7 separate regions of the Homo sapiens genome follow, and all the other regions are linked to region 6. Evidence: promoter capture Hi-C in 16 types of primary human blood cells and fetal thymus (Javierre and others, 2016). All regions are on one chromosome and are shown on one strand. Each heading gives the region's core, a stretch centred on a gene start or on the middle of the fragment in contact. The rest is flanking DNA. Distances are from core to core; before and after follow the strand shown.

Region 1 (3,145 bases), core at 563-3,062, 4.8 Mb before region 6:
GCTGGGGAGGGCTATTATCATTTAAACTATGAACTAAATGTCTCCCAAAGCTAGCCCAGGAATAATCAAAGGCAGCTGGGGGTGGTGAAGAGACTAAAGCTAGGAGCGGGGTTGAGCTAGAACAGATCTCCCCCATTGTCACAACCTTCTTGCTGATTCTAATTTTGGAAAGGCAGTTTCAATATTTTCTTTGAGTCTTTCCAATAGTGTGTATCTTATCCTGTCTTGGATTATTGTTTTTGTCCACTTATCTAACTCATTATGTGCTAGCTCAAATATGCTTAAATGATATTCTATACAGTTAGTATAGGGCTCAAGCAAATGTTTGTTTAACTGAATTAAACTCCCTTTTTCCTGCCTTCTTTTTCGATAGGCACAATGATTAGCAGCTAAAGTTTTCAATGATGATGGCATCTTTTATTTCTTCATATGCTTGCAACATTAACTACTTATGTTAAGTCCACTTCTAATATTAAGTTAATCTATATTCATAACCATTCATAACTTTATCTTTTACTTATGTTTTATAAAATATTCTGAATGACATGTTTAATTTTTTATCATGAGTGGACAGGATCATTTCTGTTGGGAGCATTCATTGTGTTTTTTTGAGAGCAATGCTATAAATATTTTTGTCTAGTTCATTTGTTTAACATGATTCTCTGATTACTGGGCACCGACTTGTCCTTCTTCCAACCGTTGGAAAGTTGAGCAGGAATCGCAGCAGCGGTTGTCATAGGTGTTAGAACCAGAGTGACTCCATTTTGGGTGAGGGCTAGGAAATGGAAACTGAGACTCCATTTTGAGTGAGGGCTAGGAAAATGAAACTGCGACTCCATTTTGAGTGAGGGCTGGAAAATGAAACTGAGACTCCATTTTGAGTGAGGGCTGGAAAATGAAACTGGACTTTATTTTGAGTGAGGGCTAGAAAATGAAACTGAGACTTGCTAGGCTGCATTCTCAGAAAGTTAGGCATTCCGAGGCTCTAGATGTTTAAGGTTAAGGGGACAAATTAATAATGTTTACTAAACAAACCCAAACTTGGGAGTGTCCAGATATCCTGATATCTGGACATCAAAGGCATTCCTAATTTTGCTTTAAAGATAAGAGTATTGAATCTTGCAAAATACAGTAGTTAAGAAAATTAATCCTTTATCACAAATCCTTGTAGCAGAGCACACCTCCCCATAGATACAAGCATTGTACCTAGGGTGGATGTGTTCCTCCTCTTACTTTCAGGAACATCCTACTCAATGGAGTAGCTGTCCTTTCACCACTTTACTTTCCTAATAAACTTGCTTTGACTTTGCACTGTGGAATAGCCCTGAATTCTTTCTTGCGTGAGATCCAAGAACCCTCTCTTGGGGTCTGGATCAGAAACCTTTCCTGTAACACGGTTACTGAGGACCTGTGGATGATGTGGACAAATCCTGTTACATTCCCTGCTGCCGCTTTCTCACCTGTTAAGTGGGATTTATAATACCTGTCTTATCTACATCATGAAGTTGTTTTGGGAAAAAGTGAAAAAGTAACGATGTACTTTGACATGCCCAAGCACATTCTGGAATGATTATGATGATACGCTTCTTCTAAGGAGAGAAGTGGCAAACGCACAAGCCCTGTGCTGTGGCTGTGGCTGACCCCATTCTTCACAGTGACCTTCTCCTGGACCTTGATTCAGCCTCAGAAGCTTTCTCAACACAGTACCAAGAGATTAAATTTGGCACAGGATGTAAATTTGCTTTAGAAAGCATGTTTTAGGCGACCCAAGAGATGTTCAATATGATTGAGCTGAAATACTCTATGCAGAGGGTATTTGCAAAAAGTACTGGGTCCCTGGCTTCTTCCCCGCCCTTGCCCACACACGTCTACAAGCACATCTCTGTTCACTCACACAGAGGCCAGTCCCTCAACCTCGCTGTCTGCTTTTTACAAAAAGCTTCCCCTTCTTGCCCTTTCTCCTTGCCCTGAGACCCAACCTTCCCTCTCAGGCTCACTGATGGAGTCCAGAGCACAGACACAGCCTGGGGTCAGAGGGAGCAAGCACAGGTGGCTTCTGAACAAGGTTTCATCTCCTACTCATGCTCCTAGCTGAATCTCCAGAGGAAATGGATTATAAATAAATGTCTGTAAGATTGACTTGCTTGATTACATTTCTCTAATCTGTCATTTTGCTTTTTAAATTAAAATTCTTTTTTTTCCCCCTGAAAACACATTATTACATTTGTGGTTAGGTTGTACATCTTGAAACCCTTTATTCTGCCCCAACCACTACTTGGAAACTTATAATTAAGTAACCTGGCATGCTTTCATAAGAAGTGGAAATTTTCTAAGAACACAATGTGTTGGTGGATGTATCCTGAGAGAGATTTCCTAGTTAAAAAAAAATTAACTCTATAGGCCCTCTGTGACAGAAAGGGGTAGAATTTCTTTCTTTTTTTTTTTTTTTTTTGAGATGGAGTTTCACTCTTGTTGCCCAGGCTGGAGTGCAATGGCGCAATCTTGGCTCACTGCAACCTCCGCCTCCCGGGTTCAAGTGATTCTCCTGCCTCAGCCTCCCGAGTAGCTGGGATTACAGGCATGAGCCACCATGTCTGGCTAATTTTGTGTTTTTAGTAAAGATGGGATTTCTCCATGTTGGCCAGGCTGGTCTCGAACTCCTGACCTCAGGTGATCCACCTGCCTCAGCCTCCCAAACTGCTGGGATTACAGGCATGAGCCACAGCACCTGGCCAGAAAGAGGTAGAAGTTTCAAAACCAAAGAAAAGTTTGTTAAGGAAATTAACACAAGAGTAACATTCTTAAGAGAATGTACTAACACAATGCACTAAGTCATTTGCCATTTGCCCAGTGAAATGAGTTTTTTCTCCTATGTCTTTTCCGATAGTCTTTCTGCTACATCTTTGCCACAGACTGCTGGGCTTTGGAAGCAAATAAGAGAACCTCTGCAAAATTGCTGTAAGCAATTAAGAAGAGACTTCTAATTCTGCTAATGGGAGACTAGATAATGAAGACTAGTCTTCCTACCAGGAACAATTAGAAAAACTGAACACAACATAAAGAAAAAAAAAAAAAGCTCATCTATCTGTTTAAAACTTTGGAGAACTTCCAAGACAGCAAGAACTCGAAGGCCAACTGATGTGGT
Region 2 (3,272 bases), core at 403-2,902, 4.0 Mb before region 6:
ATAAGCTTTTATTTACATGTAACTTTTTTTCCACAATAGAATATTAAGGATATTCTTTTTTTTCGTTTTGTAATGCCATTAGAACGGAAGTTCCATAAGGGCAGGTATTTTTGTATTTTTGTCTATTTTTTTTTCCACTGGCACATCCCCAGCACCCAGGCTGTGCCTACCACACAGCAGGCACTCGAATGCCAGTGATGAAGAAGTCACGATACCACACCATAACTGAACAAGATTTATACCCAAGACTAATATCAAGAATGTTACTTACTCAAAAACTTCTAACGGTACAGTAATATCATGAAGCTGCTGTCTGCACTTGTCAATATCCTGTAAGCCAGTAACAATAAAATTCCTGGGGGAAAGGCAAACACACAGGCATCTGGTTAATTTCGCTTGACAGCATAAGCACCACCCACAGAGCTACCCAGCCAACCGGGGCTCCACGCAAGTTCGTTCTCCTCACAGCTATGCGGGTTACACACGGTTCTGACCTCTTTGGTTAGCTACAGGATTCCTAGGACACCGTTAGAGTTACAAAATACCCTTAAATATTTGTTACTTTCCTTCTCAACTAGAAATTGCCAGTAAGGGGGATGGAGAGGGAACCTGATGAAAAATATGAACCTTCTCTCAAAAACAATTACCTGACTGTGCATATGACTGTGTGTGCGGTTTCAGCGAACACATGAGGCAGCGGACTATACTCAAAGTCTGAGGGAAAGAAAGCCATACTGTCTGGTTTAGCTTCCTCTCCTCTCTGGAGCCTTCCTACAGCATCAGGCTGGTCTGGCTATTCCCACAGCACTAGGTATGGAACCTCGAGTGCAACATTTTCTATGTCCGTGCCACATATAAAGCCCTTCTCGAAAGTGCTGTACTTGCATTTGCCTTTTCTCCAACCCAGGGCCTAGCAACATGGGCAGCACAAGGCTGTTGCCAAGAAATAATAATAATAAACGTTCTGCAACCTTTCTCAGCACCACCTCCCCGCTATTTCCTCCACTGTCAGGCCTATGCGGCAGGTGGCTTCGGAGCCTCACCTTCTGAGGCCTAGTTTAGGGCGTGCACTCACTGTGGAGCCTGCCTCCCCTCTGGAGACAGGGACTGAATTCCCAGAAGGGCTCCAGGAGGAAAAGGCTGGGAGGGGGTTACACATGAGAGGGGAGACGCTAGAAGAGAAAGCATGATTCCCTTGATAGGGAAACGTAAAGTATATCATCTGGCCATGACGACGTCTCCAAAGGGGCCTCAAAGAGGTTGGCTCTTGGCAACAGGCTGGAGCGCGGGCCCCGCCCTCTGAACACAGCCAGGAAAGGCGCCCCGGGCTCCGGGACCAGACCAGAGGGCTGGCGGGGCACGAGTAGCGGTCAGGCTCGGCTCGGGCTCCCTAGATCCCCGCTCCCCTAGCACACGCTTCCCGGCCAGGCCCTGGGGAGACCCCGGCAGCCTCGGGCCGCCACTCACAGCTTTTGGTTGAGCCCGGCCTGGCTGCTGGGCTGGAAGTCACTGACGATGATGCCGAGCTGCCGAATGTTCTCCACGAACTTCTCCAGGTGCTCCTCTAGGTGGTCAAACTTCTCCGCCATCGCCTCGGCCCGTCCCCGACCCACACAGCCTCAACCAGCAGCGCCGCAGGCGTGGCCCTACGCTCCCGCTTCCTGCTTCCGTCCGGACAGATACGACTTCCGTTTCCTCTGGGGGAGCGCGGGCGAGCTCTTGGGGGCGGAGCCTCGTTATCGGGACGGGCGTGTTGGGGCGGGGCCTAAGTGCGGGGCAGGGCGGGCTTTCGGGGATGCGGTCTGGATTCTGGAGGAGGCCTCGGCGCGCAGCTGGGCGAGTACTAACTGTTTGCACTCTCATCAGACCTGCCTCGGTCATGGGAGAAGTTGAAGACTTTCTGCAATGCAGCATCTTCAAGCAATACACACATGGATGAAAATCCTAAAGTTTGCATGAAGGACCAATAACGGTAGTTTCCCTGCCCCTCTACCAGAACCCCTGGGATCAGCGCCTGCCTGCCTCCTTTCTTCTATGTAATCGGCGGCCACCTCCCCTAGCTCTTGCTGCTAACCATGCTTCCCGGACACCTGCTGCCTTCGTAGGTCAGGGTCTCACCTCCTCGGGCCAATTCTGACCAAACAGCACCCTGTGGGGTTGCCCTGTCTTAGTAAACTGCTGTTTATCTCATTGAAATTCAGTTTAGGTCATTTCACTCTTATGTTTAAGAAACTTTTCTGCCCGATCTCCTATGATAGCGGATATCTCCTCTAGCCTGTTTGAATTTCTCAAGTGATTTATTTTACTGAATATATTTGTGGCCTGTACTTTTCAGTGCCTAGAAACAGGCAAAGTGAGGGAGCTCCTTTGCTAGATGATCTTCAGAGCCTCTCCCAGCTGTGACCAGAAATGGAAAGCCAGAGAAGGTAAGTGACTTGCCAAACTTATGGAATCAGGGCACTCCAGTTGGTGGGCTGGGCTGATAAACAGAAATGTTACATAAAATACTTCTCTCCTGATTTAACAACAATTAACTTTAGGGAATTATAAAACAAGATGGAGGCTGGGCGTGGTGGCTCAGGCCTGTAATCCCAGAACTTTGGAAGGCCAAGGCAGGTGGATTACCTGAGGTGAGGAGTTCGAGACCGACCTGACCAATATGGAGAAACCCTGTCTCTACTAAAAATACAAAAATTAGTCAGACATGGTGGTGTGCGCCTGTAGTCCCAGCTACTTGGGAGGCTGAGACAGGAGAATTGCTTGAACCCAGGAGGCAGAGGTTGCAGTAAGCCGAGATCATGCCACTGCACTCCAGCCTGGGCAACAGAGCAAGACTCAAAAAAAAAAAAAAAAGGTGGAAATAAAATATTAGACAAATAAAAAATTTTAAGTTATTAGGTAGAGGTAGCGACATGGAGTGAACGGCCTTTCTCAATTTCATAAGTAAGAAAGATAGATAATTGATGGAACTTAGGCTTTGGTAAGTATTTATTTTAAAAATTTAAGGGTATCTCTTTGCTAGTATATATAATTCCCAAACTAGTAGACAGGGGGAAGGGAATAAAGAAAACACAATCAACTCAATAGAAGGCAAGAAAAGAAGAGAATAAAGAAGCAAAGAACAAGCATGGAAAATAAAACTCACAACGTAAAGTGCAAAAATTAAAGGCACACGACTCAACAGCAAAAAAGCAAAAGAAGAAATTTATAAATGGGCAAAGGACCTGAACAGATACTTCTCAAAAGAAGACATAAAAATGACCAGCAAAAAT
Region 3 (2,981 bases), core at 171-2,670, 4.0 Mb before region 6:
GTGACACTTTTTTGGGTCACAGTTTGGTAATAATTAGCAACATTTAAGTACACATAATTCCATCTTAAGAAATTAATCCCAAGGGACTCCACAGATGCCAGTCCAGGACAATGAACAATGGCATACCCCATGGCACTGCTGGCATCCTAGAGTCTAAGCACATTGCGGCTCCTCCATGCCATGGGCACCACCGACGGGCCTGCCAGCCTGCCCCTGCTGACAAAGATTTGCAAAGGTATTTCAAACGAAAAAAGCAAAACCCTGAAGGGTGTGTATAATGCGATCCTCTATGTATTTTTCTAAGCACAAACCTGAATATTACGCGTAGAGGGCATCTGGTCTGCCTGGGAGGATGTCCATGGTTAAAAACACTGAGGCTGGGTCTGGAAGCTCTGCACCATTCACATTTTTCACCATGAAAAACAAGTGTGCGAAACAGCAGTGTTAAGTACGCTATCTGCTTTTGCTCGCTGCACAAAAATAACATTTGTACAAACAAAAGACTATTTAAGCTTAACAAGAGCAGCAATAAAAAACAGGTCCAAATCGATCCTGTGTATGCCCAGTTTCTGTAATGGAGGGCTCTGTGCTGAGTAAGCTCTCTGGTTTCACACTGTGCACAGTTAATAAATGGTTATTAATAATAGCAATGATAATGGCCTCCACGTGCTACTGAAATGCAATTAGTTTCACAGTGGAGCATGCTACACATCTGAGGATGAACATTCAATTTTCACTCACATCCCAAACTTTTAAGTGGTCAGACCAACAGTTTGCATAAAAGGCCCTCCTGTGTGTTGCACTGTGTCTTAATTTCATAACTCGACCGCACCCCGGGCCCCAGCTGCTGCTTTTGATTAAATCAGTGGACGACTGTATTAACATCCCTTTGGGACTCTGACACTCCAGGCTGCATGTGGCTGCAAATTAATAAATGCTGGGGCACAAAGAGACTGCCCAGAGGGCACCTTAAAATACGTGCCTCTTCCCCTAACATATCTTGGGAGAAAAAGAAGCGTCCCTGGAGGGTTGATGGGGTGGACACGCAGAGTGAGCACGGGAGCGCAGGCAGGGAAGGGACCATCTCTTCCTCATCAGCAGCCCCTCTGCAGGCAGGTGGCTGAGAAAGGCACAGGAAAAGGGCTCAGGGCGTTTTCAAGAGGAAGGCTGGGCAGGAAGGAGAGGGGAGAGAGCTGGAAGGAGGAGGCAGGATGTGGCAGGCCCTGGGGCCGTCTTTGCATCGAGCCACCTCCCCCAACCTTGAGAAGAGGAACAGGAGGTTAGGAACAGATGATGGCCCATGAAAAGGTGAAAATAAACTAGCTGTGATGCGTTAAAGAGGGTGACGCCTACGAGTCCTGCAGCCACTGCAGGCAGAGGAGGCCCTGCTTCCCTGACCCATCTGCCTGCGGCTGCAGGTGGCACCTCACAGTGGCTGTGCCTCCCAGGACTCCAGCTTGAGACTCGGGAATCCTCCCACCTGGAGAATCGGGAAGACTCCTGCTTGCTTTTCCAGTCGGATTATTTACCTCGGTCCCGCCAGCATCTATGCCCTGACTTGAGACTACTCTAGGCAGAGGCGAAGGTGAGGCCAGCCAGGGAGGCAGCAGCCGTGGATGTGGGCAGGGCCATGGACGGACAAAGCAGCTCCTCTGCAGCTCCCGGACGCAACCTCTGGTGAGCACTGTCACCAACCATGCCATTCCTCAGCACTCCCAGAGGGAGCCTGCAGACAGCCCCGCGTGGATGGCTGCTGCTTCTTATTCCAAACTCTGTCTAGACTGAGGCGCAGTGCTGGGCCTTGCGCTCATCAGATAAACTAAACTTGAAAACTCACAATGACGCATCCGGGGTTTAAATTTACTTACATGAAATTCAATTTTTAGCCTTAAGTCACTCCTACAAAGTAAGTTTCTACAGGAAAGGGCCAACATGAGCACCCAGTGAATGGAAATCCAGGCCATCCTCATCCTGAAGGTGCCAGAGCAGGCCCCGCCGGCTGCCTGAGAGCTCCCATTCCTTGTCAGTCCCCTCTGCCCCTGCCTGCCTCAGTTCTCTGCCCCTGCCTGCCTCTGTTCTCTGCCCCTGCCTGCCTCAGTTCTCTGCCCCTGCCTGCCTCTGTTCTCTGCCCCTGCCTGCCTCAGTTCTCTGCCCCTGCCTGCCTCTGTTCTCTGCCCCTGCCTGCCTCTGTTCTAAGGACTGTAAGAGCTAAACCTAAGATCACTCGACTCCCTCGTAATCGGGGGCGGGGGGCCATGCGACAGTGTTCTTGTCCATGAGATGTGAGCAGAAGTCCATGAGAAAGACAGCCCTTCCAGAATAAAATGGCAAAGCTTCCACAGGAGAAATCTTTTTGCCCGTCGGCCTTTGCCCTCCCTCTATGTTATTCCTGCCTGGAATGCAAACGTGATGCCTGGAGGTGCAGCAGCCATCTTGTAATGTGAGGACAGAACCCATGCTGAGGATGGCAGAGCAGACAGGTGAGCCTGGGTCCTGGCTGATGCCTGTGAGGAGCTACTGCTGTCTGGGCAGACAGCTTAGCATTGCTGTTGCAGGAGAAAAATTAATTTCTATCTTTGCATCTCATTCTTAGCTGAACCTTTCCTAATTTGCAGCAAACCTACATGAAACAGTAAAGGACAATCACAGTTAAAATAAATACAACACATATGTGTAAATATACGTTTATAATTATTTTTGGTGCATATTTAAATTAAGGGAGAGAAGTTACGTAAAATTATTTTCAAAATTTTAAGGTATGATGGACATTATTATCCTGTATAAGATGGCTCACTCCTAAAAAAACCTGGAAAACTTCAACGATAGTGGAAAAACAGAGACGCTTTTTAATCCATCATGAAAAATCCTAGCACAAGCCCAAGTGGAAACACTATTCCCCAACAGAAATGCAAAGGCAGAAAAGCCCCCTGAAAGAGGGATCCTAGCAGTCAGCCTTCCTCCTACTGAAAGAGGGATCCTAG
Region 4 (3,213 bases), core at 102-2,601, 3.7 Mb before region 6:
GATAAATACCTGCAAGGGACATCACATAAAATTCGATCATAGAAGAGGATCTCTTTCCTGCCGTCCACATCTATCTGGAGCCTGGGTATGCTGGAGGCATCATGGTTGACCACCATGATGCAGGGGCTGCTCAGCCTCTTGGCTTGATGGACGAGCAGGTAGCAGCGCTTGTTGTCCACATCATTCGCAATAACAAATCCCTCTGAAGGCACAGAATTGCAGTGTCAGGTGAAATGGAGCCTAAGTGGAATCACATCCTGAAATATGCGACCTCCAAAGGTCAGCCAGTGAGAAGCAGCAATCCACCAAACTTAAGACCCACAGTCAAGGTTTTCCAGAATTACGTTAAGTGGTTCAAAAAAAGGAACCAGGTGGCTCTGGATGGATTTTATGGACACTCGAATTTTGAAAGCCTCAAAAGTCATCTATTCAACAATTATTCACTTTGTGCCAATTACCATGCCAAAAATGTCTTTTCTGTTATTAGTAACGATTAACTACAAAAAAAAAAGATGAGGAGAAAGGTGTAGAAACAACAAAATCACCTTACAAATGTTTCAAAATCCTGAACACAAGCCGGGACCCTGCTCTGACTGTGAGTCAGGCTCCTAGGGTGGGGCCCCAAGCACCTGAACACGGAAGCTCTTCCCGGGAGGCTCTGCAGGCTGGGAAGTCTACTGGGTGTACCTCTGCTCATCTCTGGTTCTTCTCACACCCCCAGCAAAAAGGCAAATATACCAACAACATGTATGATCAAAGCCACTCTTCACAACAGTATGAAATGCAAAACATCCACAATACAAAAAGGAGAACCTGCTGCTACTGGGACGCCAAGGCTCTTTACTGCCAATGTGGAGAAAACAACTAAAAACAGGGAAAAGTGAAGCAGGCTTTTTAGCCAAGGCATTATCTTTAAACAATGTAAAAAAGAGGATTTCAAAAAACAGACCTAACAAATATGCCTATTAAAACAGAACTAGAGAAGTTTGCCTGAACAAAGATAGGACGAGATGAAAGCTGACTCTAAAACATCACGATGGGTATTTGTTTCCACTTAAGAGAAAGGGGCGTGGTGTCACTATAACAGCTAACATTTCCTGAGCACCTCGCAAGCTACATACTGATTCGTCCCATTTCACATGGGATGTCTAACACTGTAAGTAACTTGCCGATTAGGATTTGAACCCAGGGAGTCTGATGGTAGCTTTTAACTACACACTACTACCCTTCATGTAAGGCAGTAAGTAATAATAATAATAATAATAGTAATAATAATGAACAAAGGTGGGGGAAAGGGGAAATTGTTACTAAAAATTCAAACAGTGAAATCTATCTTCTGTAAGTAGGCTTGATAAAGAAACACCATCTGCAGCCGGGCGTGGTGGCTCACACCTGTAATCCCAGCACTTTGGGAGGCCAAGGCGGGCGGATCACGAGGTCAGGAGATCGAGACCATCCTGGCTAACATGGTGAAACCCCGTCTCTACTAAAAATACAAAAAATTACCCGGGCATGGTGGCGGGCACCTGTAGTCCCAGCTACTCGAGAGGCTGAGGCAGGAGAATGGCGTGAACCCAGGAGGTGGAACTTGCAGTGAGCCAACATCACGCCACTGCACTCCAGCCTGGGCAACAGAGTGAGACTCCATCTCAAAAAAAAAAAAAAGAAATGCCATTCGTTTTTATAGAAAACACACATAATTCTAAAATAAAGCTCCCCCATGGTATGAGTGTGTTTGTTTGAGTACTACTGACGGTGGTAGGCAAGATGTCCAGTTCTACTTCCGGTAGACGGAAAACCCAACTGCTTGTCATAGGAGACTTTAGAGCCAAATTAGCAGGCAAAGTTAGAGTCTTTTCCTTGTCTACAATCTGCCAAAGTGGCATTCCTACCATTTTGAACACAAGTCCAATGCATACCTGGAAAGGGGACATTCATGTCGGCATGTAGCATTTCAATTAACTGTGTGGTCTTTGAGCCAGGTGCTGCACACATATCTAAGATCTATTAACAAAGCAAGAAACTGTTTCATGTTTTTAAAAAACCAAATATTCTACATTTAATTTAAAGCAATTCTAGTTTTTCAATTTCTAGTCCAAGATCTAAATATACTTCTTTACAGAGTCTATAGCATGACATAATTTACTTTTAGGGATTCTACACTGCCCCAAAATCACAGAATGATATAGGTACAGTCTCCAAAGAGGATGGGAGGAGAATGAAACTGTAAGCCAGAGAGACTAAATATAGAGATGAACAAGTAAGAATCATGAAAACATAATGCTAAGGAACAGAGCTACCTAGACTCAAATCTCAGCTCAGCCAGTTAACAGCTCCGTAACCTCAGTTCAAGTACTTCTCCTTGCTTCCTTTTCCTCATCTGGAAAAATGGAGATGGTGACAGTATCTGCCCTTAGAGGGTTGTGTGAATGATAAAGCCAACTAATTCACCTAAAAAACACAGAGCAAGGCCAGGCACAGTGGCTCACACCTGTAATCCCAGCACTTTGGAAGGCCAAGGCAGGCGGATCGCCTGAGGTCGGGAGTTCGAGACCAGCCTGACCAACATGGAGAAACCCCGTCTCTACTAAAAATACAAAATTAGCAGGGTGTGGTGGTGCGCACCTGTAATCCCGGCTACTTGGGAGACTGAGGCAGGAGAATTGCCTGAACTCAGGAGGCGGAGGTTGCAGTGAGCCAAGATCGCGCCACTGCACTCCAGCCTGGACAACAAGAGTGAAACTCCATCTCAAAAAAAAAAAAAAGAAAAGAAAAAAGAGCACAGAGTAATGCTTGCCATACAATGAGCTCTCAATACATGTTCACTATCATTTTCAACCTAATTTAGCCAATCACCATCACTGAAGACAATCCATATGGTAAACAAATCAGTAAAACTAAAGGGGAGAAAATTTTCTAAACCATAAAAATTAAGTAGGACAAAAAAGAAAAAAAAAAAAAAAAGAAACTAAGATACGTACATATCACTCTCTATCCAAAGTGAAAAGAAGAAAAAAAGGACTAATTATATTAAGAAAAAATGGTTTCATCAAAACAAACAGGCATGACACTGGTAACAAGCTGCCCGCCCCCACGTTTCTAGTTGCTATATGCTACCTTATGATGAGGCCGCACGTTGAGGAGCAGTGGTGGGATCATGCTAACAGCTTCTTGACGACTAATATTTCCCTTGAGGAAAAAAAAAAAATCAGC
Region 5 (3,050 bases), core at 66-2,565, 4.9 Mb before region 6:
CTGTGCACTGTGAAGGATGAGAGCTGGGCACACACAACAACTGAGGAATTCATTGGGAGGTGAGTCAGAAGGAGGAGGAGGATGAAGAGGAAGAGGAGGAGGAGGGTGAGGAGGAGGGAGAGGGGAAGGAGGACGGGGAGGGAGGGGGAAGGAGGGGGAGGAGGAGGAGGAGGAGAAGGGGCTGCACATGCCTCAGCAAGGGCAGTACTGAGCAGAAGATGATCATAAAGTCACTTCCTCCATGTCTTGGTTTTTAAATCATTGCTGTCTGTGGGATTTGTCCTCTGGGCTCCTTCTTACCCCAGATGCAGTCTTGGGCACACACCCTAGCCTTTCCAGTCACTCGGAGACAACACAGTCCAGTGTGATGTGCTGTCACTTATTTCCTGTCTTCAACTTAGCTTCTTACCCATGGAGCTGGTGGCCGTTCTTAGACGCTAGCAAGATGGGTGTGGGTGGGTGGGAATGGGGCAAGACAGGCTTTTCCTCTGTTCCAACATTTTCCTTATTCACCAGCTTGTTTGTGACCCCTCCAAGCTTGGGGTAGGAGAAGGGATCAGGAGAAAAAGATGCAGTCTTTGTAACCTGGCTTCCCAAAGTGCTTGAGTCATAGTCCAAGAACAAAGAACAGGCTGGTGGGGTGGGCTTCTCTCCTGCAGCGAGCTCCTTGGGACGGAAGAGCATCTTCCGCACAGGACTGGGGCAGAGCTCAGCCAGGAGACCCACATTACACCCAGATTATTTTAAGAGAGAAAAGGTAAAAGCAAAACACTAAAATATCACAGGAGGAGCCACCGCAAGAAGCAGCTGACACCTTGGGCTGGAGAGAATAAAAGAAGGAGGAAGGAGTGAGCAAAACTCAGAAATGTGGAGGAGCTGCCACCCAGAAATCACACTCAGACATATGAAGAAGGGACCTTCTGGGCTGGTGCTGAGGCCTCTGCTCTTGGACTCAGGGCTCTGTGGAGCTGGGAAACCAACTTTGCTGGTATCTCCGAGGGGATGCTATGAGGCTGGCTCTGCGTGTGTCAGAGAAACTGCAGACCCAATTCGTATGCCGCTCTGTTCATGAACTGCCACTGCCAGGTGCGAAAGCAAGGATAGCAAGACGCTAGCAGGACCAGGAGTCGGACAGGACAGAATGGGAGGCACAGGCCCCTCTCCTACCTCTTATCTTCTGGTTTCCTTGTGTATATCTGTTGGCACAGCTGAACAGAACTCTGGCAGGAGAGGTGGCACGTGGCTCCCCAGTCCCTACGTCACAAGGCAGAGTATAAAAGGGAAGGTGTGGGGCCGAGAGACAGTAACTTAACCACCAGCTCAGGGTCCTGGGATTCATCCCTCTTCCAGTCAGCAGGAAGTGACAAAGAGCACAGGAAGGCCCTAGGGGCCAGGCCCCTTTTGCTGATGTTTGGCTGGTAGAACTTAATCACATGTCAGGTGCAGGGAGGCTGGGGAATAACTAGACAGAATAGAAACAAGTTTTGGTGAGTGGCTGCCACTGGTGCTGTGTGGATACAGTTCAAAGTGAGGACTTTCCAGCTGTGGACATCCAGCTACAGTTCTTTGAATGGGGGATGGAAGAGCAAAGTTTTATTTCTGGCTGCTCACTTTGCCTCAGCCTCGCTTTCCTCGCAGCTCCCACTGAAATGCCCACCGTATCCAGTATGCAGAACTCCTGCTCATCCCAGTGCGGGTGAGCATGCGGCTCAGTCACCTCCAACCCATCTCCTGGAGCTGTCCCACGGTTCCCTTGGAACCACTCTAGGGCATGTAGCATCTGACTCTGAGTGCTTCACTTCGTGGGGGCACTGATTAAAACAAAGCTCTGGAATATAGCATCATCGAGAGGCAACTGTTGATTTAATTTATTAACATATACATCCACTGAAATGGCTGCTAGATGTGGTCTAGAAACCAAGGAGACCCCCCACTGGCCTCAGGTGAAGGGGAAACATGTCCCTCCCTTTCCTATCCCTCCTCAGAGTTAGGTGGGACATGCCCTTGCCAGCTGCTCTACAGAGAATCCCCTCCTCAACACCTGTCACCTCTGAGCACCTGCCGCCTTCTTCCTCCGATCCCGGAAGCTACAAGAAGCTTCTCGTGTGACCAACTCTTACAGCCGCCAGGTGTTCACAAACCCGCAAGGCAGAGTGGGCTTGTCCTCCTTTACAGAGGGCGACTGCAATGTGAGAGTTGTGAAAGTCCTTTCAAATGTTGCTTTTTTTTTTTTTACTTTTCTCAATCAGCTTTCTCAGGTTGAAGAAAATTTTGCTTAATAATCATATCAGTTTTGCTTTCTATTTCAAACTAATTGTTTCAAAACTAAATTTTATTTGTCCGGTTTCTAAGTAACATCAGTGTTTCAGGAAGAAGCAACATGTTTACTCTCTGGCTTCAAATCACTTTGAGGGTAAGAGCTGAGGCTGTGAGCAAATTGCTGATGTCTGAGGACAAGTCGAAACCCCACCACTATAACCCTGAGTGTTGAGAAAAACTGGAGCAAAGACAGCTTAGGACTAAGCCTGGTGGAACGTGTGTGGGCGGATAGCAAAGTGGTTCCCACAAGACGCCTTCCACCCTAGGATGCCCCAGAGGATGGCCTTTCCCCTCAGCAAGAAGGTTCGGTTAAGTCCTAATACCGTCGGAAATTCTATTTATGTGGAAAACACACAGGGAAAGACAGACATCTTGTGGGCATATGGTAGCATTACATCACAGGTCTGGAAATTAATACCTAATAATCAGGGGGTCATATCATTGAATAACACACTGTTAGTCACAAACAATTCCATCAAACATCTCTCCAATTAAAAGAAACAAATGAACATATAGTTCATTTTTCTTACAGTTAAATGCATCAATTAAAAGCACAGCCTTGAACTTCCAAAGAATAGACAGCTTTCCATTTTGAGTTCTCCTTGGTTTCTAGACCATATCTATTAGCCATTTCAGTGGAAGTATATGTTAATAAACTAAATCAACAGTTACCTCTCAATGATGCTAATTCCAGAGCTTTCGTTTTAAGCAGACACCAAGTATCTGAGAGG
Region 6 (2,983 bases), core at 188-2,687:
TGGAGTTGGATCAGAAGGAGAGGGGCTGGGGAAAGATCGTCTTCAAATTGTTTCTTTGGCGGTAGTATATATAAACATATTTAGGCAGGGCATAGTGGCACATGTCTGTAACCCCAGCACTTTGGGAGGCCGAAGCGTGAGGATCGCTTAAAGACAGGAGTTGAAAATCATACTGGTCAATATAGTGAGATTGCAGTGAGCCATTATCGCGCCACTGCATTCCTGCCTGGGTGACAGTGCGAGACCCCTTCTCAAAAAAAAAAAAAAAAAAAGAAAGAAAAAAATCATAAGCAAACAACAACAAAAAAACAAATATAAAGAATGGCGGTCTGCTTAATTCTCCGTGCCAGCCCTTGAAATCAGTGGGTATTATTATGTAGAGTTTGAGTTCTTTCCTCCCTTGAGTAACATGAGTGACATCAGTAACATTAGTCAAGCGCTGCTCTTTTTGAAAGACTGTATTTCATTATTTTTATTCTAAACCTTACTCTGTTTGATGAAGATTGGGGGAAGAGCCCTCCCAATTCCACCGCTCACACATAACAGCGGTTGCTAGCATTCTTTATTTGTGCTAGGTCATCTGCATATTGTTTAAACATTTTTCGAGGCTGGAAAGACTGCTCCCACTCAGGCAATTCTGACGTGGCGGCCCTTCTAATTTATATTCTCTAAATAATTCTTCATTTAGAGAAAACAGTCAGGGATTACAGTGAGGGAGGGTGACGTGCTGACGGGGACAGAGCTTGGCTTTTGATCATTCTCCCCTTAGCTCTGCCCAGGCAAGCGTCCCTAACTCAGGGTATCGGAACCGATCTCCCTTAGAGGATTATGTTTCAACCACCAGCCTCAGCGGTTTACTCAAATGTCCTTCCAGCCAAATGCAGAAGTCTCCCTGGGAGTAATTTTGGTGAAGTCAGCTTTTGCCTTTTTCATCACAGGCAGGCTTTAGTAGTTCCTCAAAACGTGCACCACAACTGCCCGGCTGCCAAACAGAAATGCTGATGCCTGGGCCCACTCTAGCCATTTGGCCTCGGCATCACGGTGCGGGAGCGTGGGGCGCAGACTCGCATTGTCACAGGAACCTCCCGGCCTTCCGAAGAGCCCCGCGCCGGGGCCTTTGTCTCGCACGTCGGCTGGGGCGGGAGCTAGGTTCTCGCAGCCTCCTCCCACCGCTCTGCGCCTTCTTTGTCCCTCCAGAAGCCGCCATCAAAGCTCAGCTCCTGATTAGGTTTCGGCCCCGCTGGCCGGCGCAGTCTCGGCGACTACCCCAGGCGGCCTGGCGCACGCGAGGATTCGCCGCGCCCCAGATGCAGGTGCCTCCCCTCCTTAGCCGCCGACCGACAGTGCACGCCGCGGCCGCCGGAAGTGACAGCGCCTGTCGTTGGGGAGCTCCCGCCCCTTCCGCCTCGGCGCCCCGCCCAGGCCTCGCCCCTAGGTGTTCCCGCCCCTCCCCCTCCCGTGTCGCTCGCTTTCTGTCAGCCTCTCTCCCTCTCCCTCTCCCCTCTCCTTCCTCTCGCTTCCTCTCTCGCACCTGAGCGTACGCACCTGCCCGGGCCCGGCTCCCTCCTCCTCTCCCCTCCCTCTTTCCCCGCCCGGCCGCGGGAGCCTCGTGGCTGCGTCACCGCCGCCCCCCCAGACAAGATGGACACCGCGGAGGAAGGTAAGTCGGCGACGCGCGGCGCCCGAGCCCTTGCGTCGGCGCCCGGGTTCGTACCCCGGCCAGGTCCGCGGCGCTCGAGGTGGGCTGCTGGATCGCGGCGGGGCGGACGCCTGGGCCGTTTGTCCACCCGCTGGGCCTCTGGGCCGGGGAGCGGAAGGTGACCCTCTGCGCGCCCCCCGCCGTTTCCCGCCCGCGCCGCCGAGGGGGGCGGGGACCCTGCCGGGCAGGGGCCGGGGCCGGGGTCGGGGCCTCGGGGCTACTGCAGGCCGGCGTGGCCTCCCTTGTCCCCGCCGTCGCGCGCTGGCCCAGAAAAGGGGGCCTCTGTCGCTGCCGTCCGGGGGCGTTTTCCGCACCCTTCCCCCACTGGGTTTTGTCTTTCTTTACGTCCTTCTGCCTATTGCTCGCCAGGCCCTACCCCCTCGCGACAGAACTTCTTTGTTGACTTTGAAACTTCGCGAAAAATACCCCGCCAGATGACGGCCGAGTGGAGTGAGCTGACCCCTGTTGAAAAGCCTGGTCCTCGGCTTGCCTGCCGCTCGAGAATCTGTTTACTAAACGGGGAGGCTCTTTTGTTGCGATCCATTTGGTTTTAAATCCTTGACACCTATAAGCAGGGTTCTGTTTGTTTTGTTTTGCGATTGCTTGTGTTTTGGATACGGTTACATTGAACAAACTGACCCTTGTAAAATGAATACTTAAGATATAAACGTCCACACCTTATGTCTCTTCAAACGCATTTTCTTACCCACTGAAGGTAGTAGATTATTTTTAACCAGCTGTGTTTTTAAATGAGTGGTGAGTTTATAGAGGAAATTACTAAATTTTGCTTTTTTTGATGTTCCGGTTATCGTGCAAATGCTTTTCTACTTTAGGTATATTTATGGGGGTATGAGCGTCTTTCAACCTTATGGGTTGCGATTTTGGCGATTTTAAACGAAAATGAATTATCAAACGCCGTCATGGAGTGCAATAATGAGTGAAAAAAGTTTGATATTATCTATGTAATGAGTTGATAACGACTTATTTTTTTTTAAAGAAGTCTTGCCTTTAATAAATACCTCAACTATAACATGTGGCACTTGATGTACATTCGCGTTCCATCTTCGTAAAAAGCCTGTGGAATAGGTAGGTATTATCTTTTATAGATGTGGAAATGTAGGCTTCGTTATTTTAATAGCTTGTCGAAGCTTTACACAGGTAGTAAGAGGCAGATTTGAACCTAGGCATTCTGATTGCAAGTAATTTCCCTTTCATTATGCCACAGTGTGTTTATTATATACACTGAGTGTAGCTAATCGCCACTGGAGACGCCTTTGGAAAAAA
Region 7 (3,367 bases), core at 457-2,956, 3.7 Mb before region 6:
GTAATTTATGTCCAGGCAGGTGCACCCACCTTCCTTGCTATCTGAAATTGGCCCCATGGCCCTAAGTAGGACCCTGTCATTTATGCCTGGGGTCCGCTGCACTCTCTCAAGTGCTGTCGTCCCTCTAGAGTCTAAACAAAGACTCAGGTAAAAGCCATGCCCAGACACCTTCTTCCCGACCCCACCCCACGCGAGTTCCAAATTGGCCACAGTCAAAGGAAAATCTTCACCGACAACAATGGATTTCCAAGGAAGTAAACTGAGTAAAGCTAAAGGGAATGGCCCGCAAGAAGAAAAGCCTTCCAGGAGATGCTGAGAGGGGCAGAGCGCTTCCTTGGAGCGGAGTGCTAGGTCCAAGTCAGAGCTCTCTAGAGGGAGGGAAGTCAGGAAGAAGATCTCACCTTCTCCTAGCAACTGGAGGCAGAGGCAGCACTCCCCTCCTCTCCCCTGTCCACCACTCTGTTGACTTCAGCGGTTTTATGACAGGCCTATAGGCATCAGGGTTACTGGTGTCCCCTTCCAGGGCAGGAATCAGAGAACACCAGAAGAGACTGGTGTCGATCTTTGTAAGGCTCGGTTTCCAGTCCTTGCAGTTCTCAGACATTCACATGAGACAAAAAAGAGGGACAAATCTTATCCTGAGGTTCTTTGTGAATGTCTTATCCAGGGCATGTGCTAGAGCAGAAGTCATTCAAAAATGCAGCTACGCAGAAGCACGTCCTCACTCCCAGAGCACAGCCAAACCTAGACCGCAGCAGCTGCAGCCATGTAGCACCAGTGCCCTGAGCAAGTTGATGTCAAGTTGATGTCTCCAAAATATAACACACTTGTGCTAATTCAGACTAATTGTCAGCAGGCTTTTCTGGAAAGAGCCAGGTAGTGCATATCTTAGGCTTTGTGGGCCAAGATACTGGGTAGGTATTTACGATGAGAGAAAACACATTTTCACAAAAGTTTCAGTGGTAAATTCAAAATATATTATCTTAGTGCATTTTTTGTAATATATGTCTAATGAGAAGAATAGAATTCTTTTCTTGGTGAGGGATAACATTTCACTTATTGGGATTCAAAGTTAGTGTTTCCTATTATCAACATCTATTGTAAATGTTCCTCTCAGTGTTGATCTGTCATGAGATTTTACGTATTTTATCTCTATAAATGGAAGCGTTGACATCAGTCCACATGTATATGATTTTAATTGAGCATGATCATCACTTGGAAGGCACTCATGGAATCCTGTTAGATTCTTCTCTTGATCTTTGCCTTTCCATATGGTATTACATTACAGATTCATATCTTCCTATGGAAGATTAGATGGCAACTCTTCCACTGCACAGCTAAATGGATTTTGAAATATGGAAATCCAGGTTCACACACTGTATTTAAACTTAGAATTTATATCCACTGCAAACTCATGTGAGCATGGAGAGCTCACTTCTTTTAATTTTAATAGCATGGAAAGTACAGAACGCAGTTTGATATGACTTGTGATTGGAACAATGGCAGTTGTCATCAAAATGACTTTAACACAGTATGAGTTTTGCACAAGTGCTGTTTTGCCTTGCAGCTTTAGGTTGAATTTATTATCAAGTCTGCAGTAAAAGCTACTTAAGCCCTTCAGAACTCAATAATGGTGGTGAGGGCAGTTCTTGCTCAGAAAAGTTTCAGTCTCAGCTCTGAGCTCAAAATAATGTGATGAAACTTTATTAAGCCATCAAACTGGTGTATTTATGTGGGACAAATCGGCATAGTCAGCTTATTTGTGACAAAAAGTTAGAGAACTGATGATAGTTGAGTCCATGAGAGGGATTGTCATTCACTGTTGACACTATGGGCTTAATCACACACAACAGATTTTCTGCAAAAGACCTGCTGATACAAGGAATAGCATGAAACACCTTACATTTTTACAAGTTTGTAAGTTTGTAATTTGTTTTTTTTTTGTCCCATACATTTTTATCACCATCATTTGCAACAGCTTAGCAGATTCCACTTTGGATTCTACTAAATTCGTGTTTTCTCAACATCTTTGAAAATATTCTCACCGGTAGTTGTTCTGCACAGACTATCTAAAGAGCCTAACCCTTCATTCACTTCAGCCTTGATGTGAACTCCTCAAATAAACAACTGAGCCATATCAGTAACATCCATAGACTCACCCAGAGCCGACAAAGACTGCTCATCATCTGCCTTGCTTTTTCTTTTTTAATTATTATTTTGAGACAGGATCTCACTCTGTCACCCAAGCTGGAGTGCAGTGGCATGATCCTCAGCTTATTGCAGCCTCCACCTCCCAGGCTCTGATGATCCTCCCACCTCAGTCTCCCAAGTAGCTGGGACTACAGGCATGTACCACCACACCCAGCTAATTTTCATATTTTTTGTAGAGAGGGGGTTTCGCCATGTTGCCCAGGCTAGTCACAGCCATCTACCTGCCTTGGCCTCCCGAAGTGCTGGGATTACAGGCATGAGCCACTGCATCTGGTCCTGCCTTGCTTAAATAGACTGTTGAGGGTGCTCCCAGTGTCCTTAACTCCTCTAGCAAGTGTTCTCCCCAAAAGGCTAATTGTGAGAAACAAGTGTGTATTCTCTGGACACGCCTCTTTGGTTGCTGCTGTTGATTAACTCACCGTTGATGCACAGCTTTCCTTGCTTCACTAACCAATGAGCCGCCCGATAACCTACTTTGGTTGCAGCCTCATTTTCCTTTGTTTTGTGAAGAAATCCTGCTGCCTTGGCCTCTGTGCCTTAAATGTTCTAGTTTTTCTGACCAGTGCTTTTCTGTGAGTTGGGAATAGGCTGGTGAGTGCAGAGTCTGATAATATTATCCTCTATTATATTCTTTTGACACAGTTCTAGTGTCATTGCCAGCTGACGTTTTTCAGGTCAGAATTCAACCCACAACTTAGAAGAAAATTGGGAGAAATGGATCAAGGTTCGCTGGATGTGATTCTGATATGCCAGAGGGAACGTCCACCACATACGCAGAATGTTTCCTGGGAGTTGCTTCTCTCACACTGCATTTGTCCATTGTTTAAATGGGTGACATCCAATGCAGAAGTGTCTTAAGCCATTTTCAATTCTGTGTATTTCAACCTTGCTAATATTTTCCCTTCCTCTTTTTCACCTTGCCTTCCTGTTATCCAGTATTGAATTTAGGATGGATTTTTTTCAGGTCCAGAGGCCCGACCTCTTATGAACTGAGTCCTTTCTATTTTAATAGACATCTTGCTAAACCAAATCCAGGCCTTACATTCCCCTTTTATGTCTTGCTCTTTTTTTCTGTATTTCCTCAAACTTAGAATTTGAACACTTTCTCACCTCTATCCTGCAGTTTGCCTAGTGGGAAATAACTTGAGGCCGTAAC

What was found. Contacts are between HindIII fragments. The CHiCAGO score rates a contact against its expected background, and 5 or more counts as called.
Region 1: a fragment that was not itself captured here is called in contact with the fragment with the promoter of MARCHF6 in region 6 in 2 of 17 cell types (total CD4 T cells and total CD8 T cells); the score reaches 10.1 in total CD4 T cells.
Region 2: a contact is called between the fragment with the promoter of MED10 here and the fragment with the promoter of MARCHF6 in region 6, in 4 of 17 cell types (non-activated CD4 T cells, activated CD4 T cells, naive CD4 T cells and 1 more). The highest score is 9.6, in non-activated CD4 T cells.
Region 3: a contact is called between a fragment that was not itself captured here and the fragment with the promoter of MARCHF6 in region 6, in 1 of 17 cell types (non-activated CD4 T cells). The highest score is 5.3, in non-activated CD4 T cells.
Region 4: a fragment that was not itself captured here is called in contact with the fragment with the promoter of MARCHF6 in region 6 in 1 of 17 cell types (naive CD8 T cells); the score reaches 8.6 in naive CD8 T cells.
Region 5: a fragment that was not itself captured here is called in contact with the fragment with the promoter of MARCHF6 in region 6 in 2 of 17 cell types (naive CD8 T cells and non-activated CD4 T cells); the score reaches 14.0 in naive CD8 T cells.
Region 7: a contact is called between a fragment that was not itself captured here and the fragment with the promoter of MARCHF6 in region 6, in 1 of 17 cell types (non-activated CD4 T cells). The highest score is 5.5, in non-activated CD4 T cells.

The regions. Positions count from the first base shown.
Region 1 is chr5:5,522,506-5,525,650 of GRCh38, forward strand. No RefSeq gene overlaps it. Among named protein-coding and RNA genes, the nearest start is that of ICE1, 100 kb to the left of the region's middle. RefSeq lists an enhancer at 724-1,003. The HindIII fragment of the contact is 249 bases long and covers 1,689-1,937 here.
Region 2 is chr5:6,376,895-6,380,166 of GRCh38, forward strand. It overlaps MED10 (mediator complex subunit 10), which reads right to left and starts at 1,653. Exons shown (of 4, transcript NM_032286.3): 1 at 1,468-1,653; 2 at 272-355. The coding sequence starts at 1,589. RefSeq lists enhancers at 1,388-1,597, 1,888-2,107. The HindIII fragment of the contact is 6,030 bases long and covers 4-3,272 here.
Region 3 is chr5:6,358,887-6,361,867 of GRCh38, forward strand. No RefSeq gene overlaps it. Among named protein-coding and RNA genes, the nearest start is that of MED10, 18 kb to the right of the region's middle. The HindIII fragment of the contact is 1,821 bases long and covers 511-2,331 here.
Region 4 is chr5:6,620,097-6,623,309 of GRCh38, forward strand. It overlaps NSUN2 (NOP2/Sun RNA methyltransferase 2), which reads right to left. Exons shown (of 19, transcript NM_017755.6): 5 at 3,118-3,189; 6 at 1,920-2,004; 7 at 10-202. Among named protein-coding and RNA genes, the nearest start is that of NSUN2, 11 kb to the right of the region's middle. The HindIII fragment of the contact is 4,178 bases long and covers 1-3,213 here.
Region 5 is chr5:5,416,858-5,419,907 of GRCh38, forward strand. All of the region lies in intron 2 of LOC101929200 (a long non-coding RNA gene), which reads right to left. Among named protein-coding and RNA genes, the nearest start is that of ICE1, 4.3 kb to the right of the region's middle. RefSeq lists an enhancer at 2,426-2,495. The HindIII fragment of the contact is 1,560 bases long and covers 536-2,095 here.
Region 6 is chr5:10,352,258-10,355,240 of GRCh38, forward strand. MARCHF6 (membrane associated ring-CH-type finger 6) reads left to right here and starts at 1,438. Exons shown (of 26, transcript NM_005885.4): 1 at 1,438-1,660. The coding sequence starts at 1,642. It overlaps MARCHF6-DT (MARCHF6 divergent transcript), which reads right to left and starts at 1,800. Exons shown (of 3, transcript NR_183261.1): 1 at 1,715-1,800. RefSeq lists enhancers at 997-1,256, 2,103-2,674 and silencers at 1,397-1,536, 1,577-2,046. The HindIII fragment of the contact is 4,878 bases long and covers 1-2,845 here.
Region 7 is chr5:6,641,103-6,644,469 of GRCh38, forward strand. All of the region lies in intron 1 of SRD5A1 (steroid 5 alpha-reductase 1), which reads left to right. Among named protein-coding and RNA genes, the nearest start is that of SRD5A1, 9.3 kb to the left of the region's middle. The HindIII fragment of the contact is 4,943 bases long and covers 1-3,367 here.